2 separate regions of the Homo sapiens genome follow, and region 2 is linked to region 1. Evidence: promoter capture Hi-C in 16 types of primary human blood cells and fetal thymus (Javierre and others, 2016). All regions are on one chromosome and are shown on one strand. Each heading gives the region's core, a stretch centred on a gene start or on the middle of the fragment in contact. The rest is flanking DNA. Distances are from core to core; before and after follow the strand shown. Region 1 holds the start of EGFL6 (EGF like domain multiple 6). Region 2 overlaps ASB11 (ankyrin repeat and SOCS box containing 11).

What was found. Contacts are between HindIII fragments. The CHiCAGO score rates a contact against its expected background, and 5 or more counts as called.
Region 2: a contact is called between a fragment that was not itself captured here and the fragment with the promoter of EGFL6 in region 1, in 1 of 17 cell types (neutrophils). The highest score is 8.9, in neutrophils.

What each region holds. Positions count from the first base shown.
Region 1 is chrX:13,566,007-13,572,858 of GRCh38, forward strand. It overlaps EGFL6 (EGF like domain multiple 6), which reads left to right and starts at 3,595. Exons shown (of 12, transcript NM_015507.4): 1 at 3,595-3,929. The coding sequence starts at 3,856. The HindIII fragment of the contact is 1,986 bases long and covers 2,583-4,568 here.
Region 2 is chrX:15,282,785-15,289,636 of GRCh38, forward strand. ASB11 (ankyrin repeat and SOCS box containing 11) reads right to left here. Exons shown (of 7, transcript NM_080873.3): 5 at 6,720-6,852; 6 at 5,097-5,288; 7 at 1-845. The coding sequence ends at 721. Among named protein-coding and RNA genes, the nearest start is that of ASB9, 16 kb to the left of the region's middle. The HindIII fragment of the contact is 7,876 bases long and covers 86-6,852 here.

The DNA of each region.
Region 1 (6,852 bases), core at 2,345-4,844:
CACTGAATAAGAAGAAATGGAAAGAAACAGACCAGGAAAATATATCAATTTCTAGAACAAGGCACTGGGCTACAGTTAACACAGAAGATTAACAATTAAGAGTTGCCAGTTTTGTCTTCAGTAGGAATGATGATCAATAAAACATCATGACGTTTGAAGGGGAGGACTCTATAGTAGAAACACAGAGACATTAATTCATCCTATGTGGGACATCAGGAAAGTTGCTCCACAGGCTGGAGCTGAGCTTTTGCATCTGTAAAATGTGGGAGTTGGTTCATATTAGTGGTTCTCAACATCAGCTGTTCATTAGAATCACCAGAGGGGTTTCTGAAAGTGCCCATGCTCTAGCCATAGCCCAGACATTAGCATCTTGGAAGGTGGAGCCCCAGACATCAGTAGTTTCAAAGCTTCCCAGGTGATCCCAATGTGCAGATAAACTTGAGAACTACTGATCCAGGTGATTTCTGGACCCTCACTACCCCTAGTGTGGTCCTCAGACAAGCAGCATGGGTGTCGCTTGAGATCTTTTTAGTAATTAAGATTCTCAGACCTTACCTCAGACCTAAATAAACAGAATCTGCATTTTAACAAGATCCCCAGGCAACCTGTACTGACATTAAATCTTGAAAACACTGGCCTAGGCACTCTTCTATGCAGCTCTTTCTTCTGACAATGCTTTGCTTTTGGTGCTGATATTACAATAATTTTTAGATCTCAGTGCCTGGCACATTGTAAGTGTTAAAAGTTTTATACGTGTGTCATGTATATGTATTCAGAAAGCACAGAAATATCCCATCACACCTGTTCCACACAGGGGGTTAAGTGGAAATAGATTGGAAGAAAATGTAGCCCTGTAAAAGGCACGGACGATTTTATGAGATTCTGATCAAAGATTGTTTTTTCTCTGTAGAATGATGAAGTAGGGTCCCCTAAAGATCAGTTTCCAGGTTCCTCTTCAAAGTCAGCAACACCAGTGCAGTTACTAAAAACAACTGCCTCCATGTGGCAATTTGTATCCAACATCTTCTCACCTGGCAACACATCATTTGCAGGTTCCTTCTCTGTTGCTCATATTATGTGACAGCTCTTTTGTTCACAGCTCCCCCAGGAAATAATAGGTGGGTTGGCTGGGGAGTGTTTGACCTCCCCCAAAGTTTCCTGTTGTAATGTCCATTACCTCCTTTAAGCCTACAAAAGAGAATTCAGCTGACAAAGAAAAAGCACAAAGCATCAAAATACTGAAACTAAAGCTAGAAAGTTACAGATAATGTCAATGCAAGATGTTATTCTGACTTTGTAACTCAGGACTAAGAAGGCAGATAGCCCTCACATTTTAGACTAATCATGTTTAGTTAGGACTTTTTTGAGTAATGGTTTATTTGGAGGAGGGAGTGATTAGTATCCAAATGTTAAGGGAGAAGTGGCATGGGCAAAAATCCATAATTTTTAATTCGATTCAAGTTCCAGATATTAGGTAGCTGCCAATGTCATGCCACTACCCGTATCCCCTCAGGCCTTACATTTCAGTAGGACCTTCAACAGTCAGTATCACTAGCCATTTGCCTGAGGGCTTTCTTTGGCTGTAAGCCCCACTCTGTCTTCAGCACAGAAGACTGAGTTCTAGGATCAGTACCACAGTTGAAGCTTTCAGGTAATGAGTGAATGGAAGTGGTGTATAAATACCCAGTTCCCTTGCCTTTTAGGTAAAATCATTTGGAGATGCTTGTTCTATGCTGGCTCTGGGAGATCCCCAGCAGCATGAACCTCCAGTTGCTCACAATGATAACTTAATATATGCCTGATATTGTCTTCTTTCCCAACTCATTTCCTCACTCACCTACCCATGTTCTCTGTACCTCCAGAATAAACTACTTTTACTTGAATCCTTGCCTCAGGGCCTGCTTGTGGGGAAACCCACAACAAGACAAATTTTATATTCCATTTTCTTTAAGATCCTCACAGGTATAGAGTTCATAACTTATATTATTTTCTTTTAGTTTTAATATTTCAGTAAATAAAATAAGTTATGGTATGAAGAGTTCAAAGTGTTTTGATGACAACCTTGAAGAGCTCATCTTATTACCTTATTCATGATACTCATCTGACATGTGAATCTGCCAATACGTGAGAAGATGAGAAAAGAGATTGATATAACAGCAGCAGAGCCCAATGGGGAAAAGCCCTGGTTTCCAGTTCTGGTTCTATACTTGTTAGCTGTATGACCTTGGTCGGGCAAGCTGCTTAACCTCTCCGACTCAGTTTCTTGACACTTCAAACATGGGGGAACTAATGGTCTCCATCCACAGGCTTGTGGATGTTCAATCAGATAACATATGTGTTTAGGACAAGGTCTGACACTATTAATTACGAGCAGCTCAATGGTCTAACTAGTTACCCAAGAATACTGAATCCATGGGGATACCTTCAACTGTAAAATAGAAGTCCCAACTAAACATGGCTTGCACCAATAAGAACATCTATTACAATGTAAAGCAAGATTCTGCAGCAAGAATCTCCCCCCTCCCTACTTCTCACATTTCATTGGCCAGAATTAAGGCATATGCCTATAAAACCATGAATCAAGCTTCCAATCAAGATAAACCTCCTCTTTCTCTGTATCCTTTTTCATTTCATTTCTCACACTGGGCCACTGTGTGTCAGAGGACTATCACAATAAGCCTCAGTAGATTGGCTGGTGCCGGGCAACCTTAGCTGAGCTCATTCATATACGTGTGGATTGGGTAATATACATGAGGCTCCACCGAGTAGCTCTGCTTCAAGCTATAGATCTGCAGGTTGACGAGGTAGCTTTTTCACCTGTTTCTCATTCGCCTTGGACCACCAGGCTAGGTGGTGCAAGGTCTTCTCATGTCCATGATAGAGGGTCAGGTGTGTTAAGACCTAGGCTTGGAACTGGAACACTGCAACTTTTCTGCCCTTAAACCATTGATCAAACAAGTCACACGGCCAAGTCCAAAGCCAAGGTGTGGGGTCATAGTGTCTGCCTACCATGAAGCCAAAGGGTGTGGACGTAGGAAGGACAGAAAGGGATCAGTCATTCATTCTAATGTAACACGTTGTCAGAACAAAGAATGTGTCAGTACCCAAATGGATCTGAATTCATATAGCATTCATGTTTCTGCCATGAATTTCTGCACTGGTTACTATATTGGGATGTCATCTGGGGTCCCATGTAAGTAAGCTGTTGCAAATGGGCCTGAGAGATTACTTGCCAAATGACAGGGTTGCCCAGGACTTAGTGACCTTCCAGCTCTAGCATCCCATTATTTGCAGTTTGTAGAAGAAAACCGGGAGAACGTGAAAACCCAAAGAGAAGTGAGGGATCATGTCTTAGGAACCTGCATCCTTCCATCCTGCTTCGACTTCTCAACTAAATTCTTAAGTCCTGGAGTGCAGGTATCACCGAAATTTGCCCCATGCCTGAAATACATGGTAGTAGATGGTGACTCTGACAAGCGTGAAGTGACCTGAATCTGGGGGAAGTTTCTGGGTGAACAGAGAGCGCGGAGGATGCGCGGGTCATGCTGGAGGCGGGTCCCAGCCAGATGTGCACAGCCCGCCCCGCCCTCCCTCGCTCACCCCGTCCAGCTTCATCCGCAGAGGAGCCTCGGCCAGGCTTGCCAGGGCGCCCCCAGCCCCTCCCCAGGCCGCGAGCGCCCCTGCCGCGGTGCCTGGCCTCCCCTCCCAGACTGCAGGGACAGCACCCGGTAACTGCGAGTGGAGCGGAGGACCCGAGCGGCTGAGGAGAGAGGAGGCGGCGGCTTAGCTGCTACGGGGTCCGGCCGGCGCCCTCCCGAGGGGGGCTCAGGAGGAGGAAGGAGGACCCGTGCGAGAATGCCTCTGCCCTGGAGCCTTGCGCTCCCGCTGCTGCTCTCCTGGGTGGCAGGTGGTTTCGGGAACGCGGCCAGGTGAGTGTCTGACTGGCGATTGGCTTCCCCCCACCCCCGGCCTGAGGTCCCGCTTTGGGGCCCCATGTCTTTGCAGGCACCCCCGCGTGTATGGGTGTGAGTGTGCACGTGTGCCTGTGCGCGCTGCGACGGGATTTAACCTGGATACCAGGCCGGGAGCGCCCACGGGCTTTCCTCCCTGCTCTCCTGTGGCGGGGCTTTGCACCTAGTTAGCTCCTTTTGCATCAGCTGTGCCCCACCTGGCTGCGTCCGGAGGGTTGCAGGAGGAGGGAGGCTCTGCACGCAGACCCGTGGGTGCGTGCGGGCTTGATGGTCTGCAGACCTGCTGTAGGGGCAGGTGTGTGAGGGTTGGTATGCGTGTCGGTGGGTGGGTTCTGTGTCTGTGCGGTTTTGTGTTTTCCACTCTATTCACAGGACACCAAGTGCTTGTCAGTCGCTAGTTTTGCTGGGGAAGGAGGGAAAGAAACCGAGGACGATAAAGCATTTACTGTTCTTGAGCTGAGCCAGCCGGGCTGCTCTCCTCACTGCTCTCTGATTAGGGTTGATGAACTGGAAAGAAAGGACACGGTTGTCAGATGACAACCATTCTCATTCTTGCTATGGCAATGCAGACTCTGAAGCCGTTCCCTACTGCCCTTAAGCTTAGCTGAGACCTGAAATATTTTTTCCAGAGATCGGCAAAGACGCTTAGTAAATGCACGCTTACATGGTGACTGTCGACCTGGCACTGTTCTAAGCACTTCAGGACTATTAACCTACCCAAAGCCATAATGGCTCTGTGTGTAAGGTACTATTATCATCATCTCCGTGTTGTAGAAGAGAAAAACGAGGCACAGAGAGGTAAAGTAATTTGCCTGAGGAAGCATAGCCAGTAAGAGATGGAGCCAGGGTGCAAACCTAGGTATTCTGGCCCAAAGTCTGTTCTTCACCAGGGCACTAGGGCAGCCTTCCGGCAACGGAAGAGGTTTTCTGGTTCTCTAACTGTGATGTCTTGCTTTCTACTTAGGTGTCCACTAGAATATGGTTTTTCCACCGCAGCATTATTGACCTTTCGGGCTGGGCTGGATAATTATTTGTTGGGGTGATGGGCTGCCCTGTGCATTGTAGGATGTTTAGCAGCACCTGTGGCCTCTACTCACTAGATACTAGTAGCAACCTTGACCCCACCCCACCCCCCACCACCACCACCACCACCAAGTTGTGGCAACAAAAAAAAGGTTTGGGATATTGCCCAAGGTCCCTGGAGGGCACAATTGCTCCTAGCGGAGACTGCTGAACTATAGAAATTTTTCAGTGATGATTCCTGAGGAGAGTAGGATAAGAGCTTTGGTTTGGTACAGGCTTCTCGAAGGTTTGCCTATCTTTGTTTGACTTACAGGAAAAAATATTTCATCAGAGTTAGCCATGGTATTAAAGGATTTCGAAGTTAAAACAGAACAAACCTCAAACCAGGTTCTTAGAATGTATGATCGCAAGTTTCAATTTCCTTTTCATGATAAAAATGTAAGCAGATGCAATTTGCTCATAATCACATTTTCCTTGAATGCTAGAGGTTCTTGCGTTGCTAGAAAGCCCACTTAAAAAAGACCAAATGCTGTTTGGAGATGAGATTAATAGTTCTTTAGCGGCCAGCAAACTGACCTCCAGGAGCTTCACTTTCAAAGTGCCACCAAATTAAATTAAAAGCCAAAAGCCCCTGGATAAACCAAAGCATATTAAACTGGAGAATCCATGTCAGGATTCTGCAATTCTGCAGTTTTCAAGATGTGAACCATGGTTTCTTTAGACGATTATCAAGTTTATGAGCTGGTGTGTTTATTATTTGCTCAATGTGCTTGGAAATGTCAAGTGGTCAGCTCTTCAGGAATGTCCAGGACCCATGTTTAATCAGCTCTAGATTCCACATTATGGATAAGACACTGTTACAGAGAAGGCAAGGCACCCATTGCAGAAAACTGTGTCTACTGGTTATTTCCTGGGGTTTCACAACTTATAGGAAAAACTGTGGCTGCTGTATAGAGATTTCCAGTATAAGCATCAGTTCTTTTTAATTGAAACACTGCACTATGATTTTATAACCTAGAAAATTATGTGCTTCTTAAATGGTATTTAGTGCATAGTACACAATTAACGCTCATCAAATGAATAAATCATTAGCTCCATGCATGTACCTGCCCTTAAGCTTCAGAATTTGGCTTGCCTTATATTTTTTATGTCCTTTGGGTATTGGAACTATTTAGATACCCTAGACCTGTCCAATACAGCAAAGATGGTAACCAGGAGCCCCAAGTGGCTATTGAATACCTGAAATGTGACCAGTCCAAGTTGAGATGTGCTGCAAAAAGTATCAAATACACATCTAATTTTCAAAAAAAAGAACAGGAACTATCTCACTAATCATTTGATATTGATTACATGTTGAAATGGTAATGTGGATATACTGCATTAGATAAAATTGTTATTAAGATTAATTGCTTCTGTTTCTTTAGCATTTAAAAAATGTGGCTACTAGAAAATTTTAAATGGCATATATGGATATTTATTTCTATTGGACAGTGCTGGTCTAGAACACTTATTGATCTGAACTCCATCTCGAGTGTTCTAAGTCCTAACACTGGGATCTTTTTGCCTTGAGTACCTAAGATAAATATATTATTAACTTTGCTATTCTGGAGATTAACGTTTGGAGCAACTCCTTCCTTACAACATATTTCTGTTTTATATTTTTTTCTCTACTGAATTCAAGTAAAAATAATGTGAGAGAGGAGGGAATGACTAGGTTCCTGCTGAGAGGCTTTACTTACAGAGACCACATGCTATGTGGGTAATTGATTTTTCTCAAAGCCCTGGTAGCAAAGTGCCACTGTAAAAATTGGCCACAAATTCCATGGCTTAAAACAAGAGAAGTTTATTGTCTTACAGT
Region 2 (6,852 bases), core at 2,774-5,273, 1.7 Mb after region 1:
TAACTTTATATATGTATATATATATAAAGTCTATATAAATATATATAACTTTATATATAAAGAACTTTGAAAACATATATATATAAGCTTTATACATATATTAAGGACTTTGAAAACATATATGAACTATATATATTAAGGACTTTGAAAACATTAAATATATGAGTGCATGTGTGTGTGTGTATATATATACGTATATATATATACGTATATGTATGTATATATATATACGTATATATATACAAAAAATCAAAATTATACCAGATTTATTCAAGGAAAGAAAGAAAAAAAGTGGGGAAGGGCTGAAGGAAGGAACTAAATCAAGAACATATCTTGGAATACCTAACATTTGTTATAATCTTATCCACCTGAATTTATATGTGTCTATACAATATTCAGAATGTTGACTTTTAGGTACAAGAAGATCCCGAATCATCAAAAAACAGCCTATTGTTTTCACTCTACTTCACAGTTCTTTTAAGTTTCTTAACAACAAGAGCTAAAAGCTAAATGGTTTCTACTTGCCCCTTGGTTAATGAGAACATTAAACTAACCAGGAGTTTCCACTCCTCAAGTGTTCTAGCTCATGGGGGATTTACTTCGACTGAGCTCATTTAAAGATACTAGGAGTCTAAGCTGTTGAGCTTCTACATTAGGTACTCTAGGTACAGCAGACAACAATCTGTGTCATTCCAAGTATCTTCCCAGGAACACTTAGGACTATTGGTATAGGAGGAATCGTTCGAGTGGCTCTGGCAGATGTAGCTTGTGGATGGCTTGATGACATGCTCGACCGAGACACTTCCGGACACACAGGCGGCAGAGCTGGGAAAGAGCAGGTGGGCCTGAGAGAGAAATAAAAATGGTGTTAACTTCATAGTGGTGGGAGGTGGGGTGGAAGGGGGAAATCAGAGAACTGGAAGAGGCGGAAATTTTCTAAAAGCAGAAGAGAAGCTGGATCTGTATAGGAACTATAGAATGAGGTAGCGGACACTAAATACAGACAGCAGATCCTGATTTGCCCCTCTGGAAGGGATGCATTTCTTTAAGTTAATCTTCCAATGGTACTTGGATTACCAATGTTGAAGAATGAAGCTAACCAGAGGCAAGTTAGGAATGAGGTGTGGGGTCTAAAGGGAATGCATCTCATTCATGTATTGAATGTGCCAATGAAAGTGATACACGGGGCCAGGCACGGTGGCTCACGCCTGTAATCCCAGCACTTTGGGAGGCCAAGGTGGGCGGATCACGAGGTCAGGAGATGGAGACCATCCTGGCTAACACGGTGAAACCCCGTGTCCACTAAAAATACAAAAAATTAGCCGGGTGTGGTGGCGGGTGCCTATAGTCCCAGCTACTCGGGAGGCTGAGGCAGGAGAATGGCGTGAACCCGGGAGGCGGAGCTTGCAGTGAGCCGAGATCGGGCCACTGCACTCCAGCCTGGGCGACAGAGCGAGACTCCGCCTCAAAAAAAAAAAAAAAAAAAGAAAGAAAGAAAGAAAGTAATACACTGGCCAAGGAGAAAATGCAAATGGAAGGACTGAACACGCAGGACTCCAAGACACAGCCACAGAACAGAGGGACAATACGGAAAGGGTGTCAGCGGGAAGTTCCACCTGCGTGGTGACAGAGGCAGTGTTAGGAGATGTGCCAGGGGCCAGATATTCAGCCCTCAAAGTACTCCTGGACCTACCGGCTCTAGCTGCCCATGAGGTGGTGCTGGCTGGGTCTCAACTTAAATCTGAAGAGGCCCTTTATTCTTGCAAGGATTCCAGCTCAATAGAGATCTGCAAGAAGGACTCAAGTCAGACCCTATTGTTCCCTGAAACTGAGTCTCATGGACTCTCAAGGAGTCTCACAGAATCATCATGCCCATGGCTTTGAATGGCTCTGAATCCTTAAGGAAAATCAGCTGATGAGAGTCCAGAATATGGTTGAATAGGATGAATGAGCTTTTGGCTGCAATACTAGTTGCACAGTCATTATTTCCTAACCTGACTGTTATCAGTAAAGATCTCTTCAAGAAAACCTAATTACTGGTCTACACAAAGTTTTCCTTTTCAAAAAAATCCACTGTAACAGCATCTCACACCCCATGAAAAATGATGGACTGCATATGCGAATAGCCAGGTTAACATTTGGCTTCACATTGCCAAGGAGCATCCATGAGATAGAAAGCTACCTGGAGGACCAAACAATCGATCTTAGTTAAAATCTTGGGAAGCAAGAATAGAAAACTTCTTTACCTGTTGTCCTACTTAACCTCCTCTGCAAAATGGTAATGTAGACAAATTGTCCAGTGCCCAGAGACACTGACAGGAGAGTGAACTCTGATGTAGTTGGTATTTAATCTTTCTTTTTTTTTTTTTTTTTTTTTGACAGAATCTCACTCGGTCGCCCAGGCTGAAATGCAGTGGTTCAATCTCAGCTCACTCCAACCTCTGCCTCCCGGGTTTAGGCAGTTCTCTGCCTCAGCCTCCCGGGTAGGTGGGATTACAGGCGGGTGCCACCAAACCCAGCTAATTTTTGTATTTTTAGTAGAGACGGGGTTTCACCATCTTAGCCAGGCTGGTCTTGAACTCCTGACCTCATGGTCTACCCGCCTGGGCCTCCCAAAGTGCTGGGATTACAGGTGTGAGCCACCGCGCCCAGCCAGTATTAATCTTTCTAGAGCAAGTGGCTATATTTATGAAGACAAAGGACAGAGGAGCTAGGCCCTGTCCAGGATATCCAGGTCTACAAATCCTAGTCCTAGAAACATTTTTGATGGAAGAAAATAGGAAATGTGAAAACTTCTATAAACTATAGTCTCTGCTAACAGTTGGAAAGTAGCTGGTATTTCCAAGCTCGGATCTGCTGAGGAAGATCATAATTCTTCTGGTGAAGATTCAAATAAAAGAACAATGATTAATGATCTAGACTATTGAAAATAATCCTGGCCAGGCGCGGTGGCTCACGCCTGAAATCCCTGCACTTTGGGAGGCTGAGGCGGGTGGATCACCTGAGGTCAGGAGTTCGAGACCAGCCTAGCCAACATGATGAAACCCCATCTCTACTAAAAATACAAAAAATTAGCTGGGCGTGGTGGCACGCGCCTGTAATCGCAGCTACTCAGGAGGCTGAAGCAGGAGAATTGCTTGAACCCGGGAGGCGGAGGTTGCAGTGAGCCGAGATCACGCCACTGCACTCCAGCCTGGGCAACAAGAGCAAAACTCCGTCTAAAATAATAATAATAATAATAACAATAATAATAATCTAGACCAGTGGTACGCAAAGTGTGGTCCTCAGACCAGCACCATCAACATCACGTGGGAGCCTGCTAGACATGCAGAGTCACAGGTCCCATCCTAGACCTCCTGAATGAGAATCTGTATTTTAAGGAAATCCTCAAGTGAACTGATATGCATGTTAAATCTTAAGAAGCACTGATTTAGAAAGACTATTCATAAAATGGTTAAAACCAAGCATTCTACTTGGAAGGTATATATGATGTAGTGGTTTCACAAAATGGAACTGGTGAGTGAAATAAGACCCTCCTCACTGAATGTTTCAAAAGATTCAGGGTTGGGGCCTTATGACATTAAGAGTGCACATTCTGATGGCCAGGTGCAGTGGCTCACACCTGTAATCCCAGCACTTTGGAAGGCTGAGGCGGGCGGATCACAATGTCAAGAGATCGAGACCATCCTGGCTAACATGGTGAAACCCCGTCTCTACTAAAAATACAAAAATTAGCTGGGTGTGGTGGTGCACGCCTGTAGTCCCAGCTACTCAGGAGGCTGAGGCAGAAAAATCGCTTGAACCCGGGAGGCAGAGGTTGCAGTGAGCCGAGATCGCACCACTGCACTCCAGCCTGGAGACAGAGTGAGACTCCATCTCAAAAAAAAAAAAAAAAAAAAAAGTGCACACTCTGGGGTCAGATGGCTCAGAATCCTACCTAATTCTATTATGTAGCTAGCTGTGTGACCTTGTCAATGCTTTTCTTTTCCCATTTGTACCTGGCATAGCAACCAGCTACTACCATATAAAGTTCCCACTGCTCTAAAGTTTTAAAAATTCAGTGAGCTTGATCTATGTTTCAAATTTAGCCCAGTGCCTGGCATACGTAGAGCTGAATAATTATAATTATCTTTAATATTCTTCAGGCACACAAATAATCAATATAGGCTCCGAAAATATTTTCTTACTGTATAGACATAAGAGGTTCTCTTCTGAATTGGTTCTCTTCTGAATTTCAGATGCTCGCCTTACCTCTTCTGGCATCAGTAGTTGCTCTTAATGCTCATGGTGGAAACGGGAATGAAGCAATGAAGAATGCAGACCCACCTACTCCCTGATCTGGAGAACAGGCAAACAACCTCACCATTTAGTCGGATTTCTGAAATACTCTGTGTCCTCCCCTACAGACTCTGACTCAAGTCTTTTGAATTTGCCATCAGATTGTCTCCCAATATTACAAAGCAGAGTTTTGGTTTGCTCAATCATACGCTTATGCCAGGACAGAAATGGAAATTCAAGATTTTCGGGGTATAAACAAGGTTTTCTGGTTTTCTTTTTTTTGAGACGGAGTCTCGCTCTGTCACCCAGGCTGGAATGCAGTGGTGTGATCTCTGCTCATCGCAACCTCCGCCTCCCAGGTTCAAGCGATTCTCCTGCCTCAGCCTCCCAAGTAGCTGGAACTACAGGCGCCAGCCACCACATCTGGCTAATTTCTGTATTTTTAGTAGAGACAGGATTTCACCATGCTGGCCAGGCTGGTCTCAAACTCCTGACCTTGTGATCCACCCGCCTCAGCCTCCCAAAGTGCTGGGATTACAGGCGTGAGCCACCACGCCCAGCCGGTTTTCTGGTTATTTTCTTGTTATATAAAATACAAAGCAACACTCTGGTTATAGGTAAATGCCCTTTGGTTGTTAGTGAATATACACAGCATATAAAATCCCAGAAGACAGGTCAGTGACGGCAGGGCCTATCACCTCCCACAATGCCACCTTCAATTAAAAAGAGAAAAGAAAAAGGAAAAAATGCTACAGATGAGACAGGAAGGGGAGAGAATGTGCTTATGGAAGAGGAATGGATACCCAGCCCTTGGTTACCTTCACGGAGCAAGAGTGCCTGCTCCACGCTGCTTTTTGGAGCCGCCAGATCAAGCGCACTTTTGCCCTGAGCATTTCTACGCTTCAGGTTAGCTCCATAGTCGGTTAGCAGGTGGATGACCTCCACATTGGACTGCCTCGCTGCAGCATGGAGTGGGGTGTCCAGCCACTGGCCATGGTCGACACTGGCTCCTTAACAAAACAGATGGCCACAATTCAACACTAAATGTAATGTAAAGCACAATGAGCTTCAAATATAGTCATTGCATATAAAGACATTTTAAGTACCATGACATACTTGACAAATGTTTGAAAATATGCAACTCAAGCCTAGAACCTCAGCAATGCCTACTAAGACTACTTGAAATTCTTTGGTGAGAAAAGTGAATTTAGATAGTTTTAGTCATTTTAAATACTTGCTTTCCCGTATAAACTGTGTGGCATACAAAATAAAGTATTTGAGGCTCCTGTTACATAGTTATTATGTTTTGGGACAAAAGATAAAGCTAAGTTTATTTAGTATTTATATTATTTGGGGCTCAAAAAATGATTTCTGAACTTACTATAGAGAATAGTAAATGATGGGAAATAAAAAAGACAAAAACTTCCTCAAGATAAAAATTCACAACTAAAGGTTTTTACTAAATCTCCACCTTTATGTCAGGGGCTAAGTTTGTTGAATCTTTAACCAAAGAATAGTTTCAAGATATTTCATTTTTCCGGCCGGGCACAGTGGCTCACACCTGTAATCCCAGCACTTTGGGAGACTGAGGAAGGTGGATCACCTGAGGTCAGGAGTTCGAGACCAGCCTGGCCAACATGGTAAAATCCTGTCTCTACTAAAAATACAATAAATTAGCCGGGTGTAGTGGTGTGCGTCTGTAATCCCAGCTACTCCGGCGGCTAGGGCAGGAGAATCGCTTAAACCCTGGAGGTGGAGGTTGCAGTGAGCTGAGGTCACGCCATTGCACTCCAACCTGGGCAATAAGAGCGAAACTTCATCTCAAAAAAAAAAAAGATATTTCATTTTTCCACGGACTCTTGGTTTCTGTATATGCCTTTTAGAATTGCTTTTAAAATGACTAGATACTGTAGCAGGATAGATATAAACTAGCCTGTAGCAAATGTCTGTTTTTACCGTCCAGCATCTTCCTGGCAAGCATACCTAGATTTCCCAAAGGTAAACCACCCTCTTGTTAGTTTCAGTTCTCGTGTTTCCAGTGAAGCCTAATAAATGCAGAGTAGGCTGAAATCTAGGCCTAAACTAATCAATATATTGTATTCCCTTGGCCCCCATGAGGGGTTCAAAGATGGGCATGTGACTTAAAAAGAGCCAATGCTCTTTCTTGCTGCGTATGGATAAGGAGGGCTGTAAGCCCAGGTATTGCTGGCAGCTATCTTGTGACAACCAGGGAGAACAATACCAGGTAAATGGAGTTAACATCAAAGGAAGCAGGACTGAGAAATACAGACACTCATTTCTCTAGAGAAGTTTTGTTTTTAGCATTCAAACATAAAATGCTAACCGAATATTTTTCAACCATGACAAGAACTTCATCTTTGAAGCTGTAGAAAATCAACAAAGTTAACAGGTTTCTTCATGAAAATAATTTTGGAAATTACCTAATTCTAGAAGTTTCTTCACACAGTCTACCCTCTGGTAGGTGCAGGCCACATATAGGGGAGTTCCGAGCTGAGGCACCTCATGGTCAATGTTAACATTATTTGCCAGCAGGATCTCCATGCACTCTCTGTG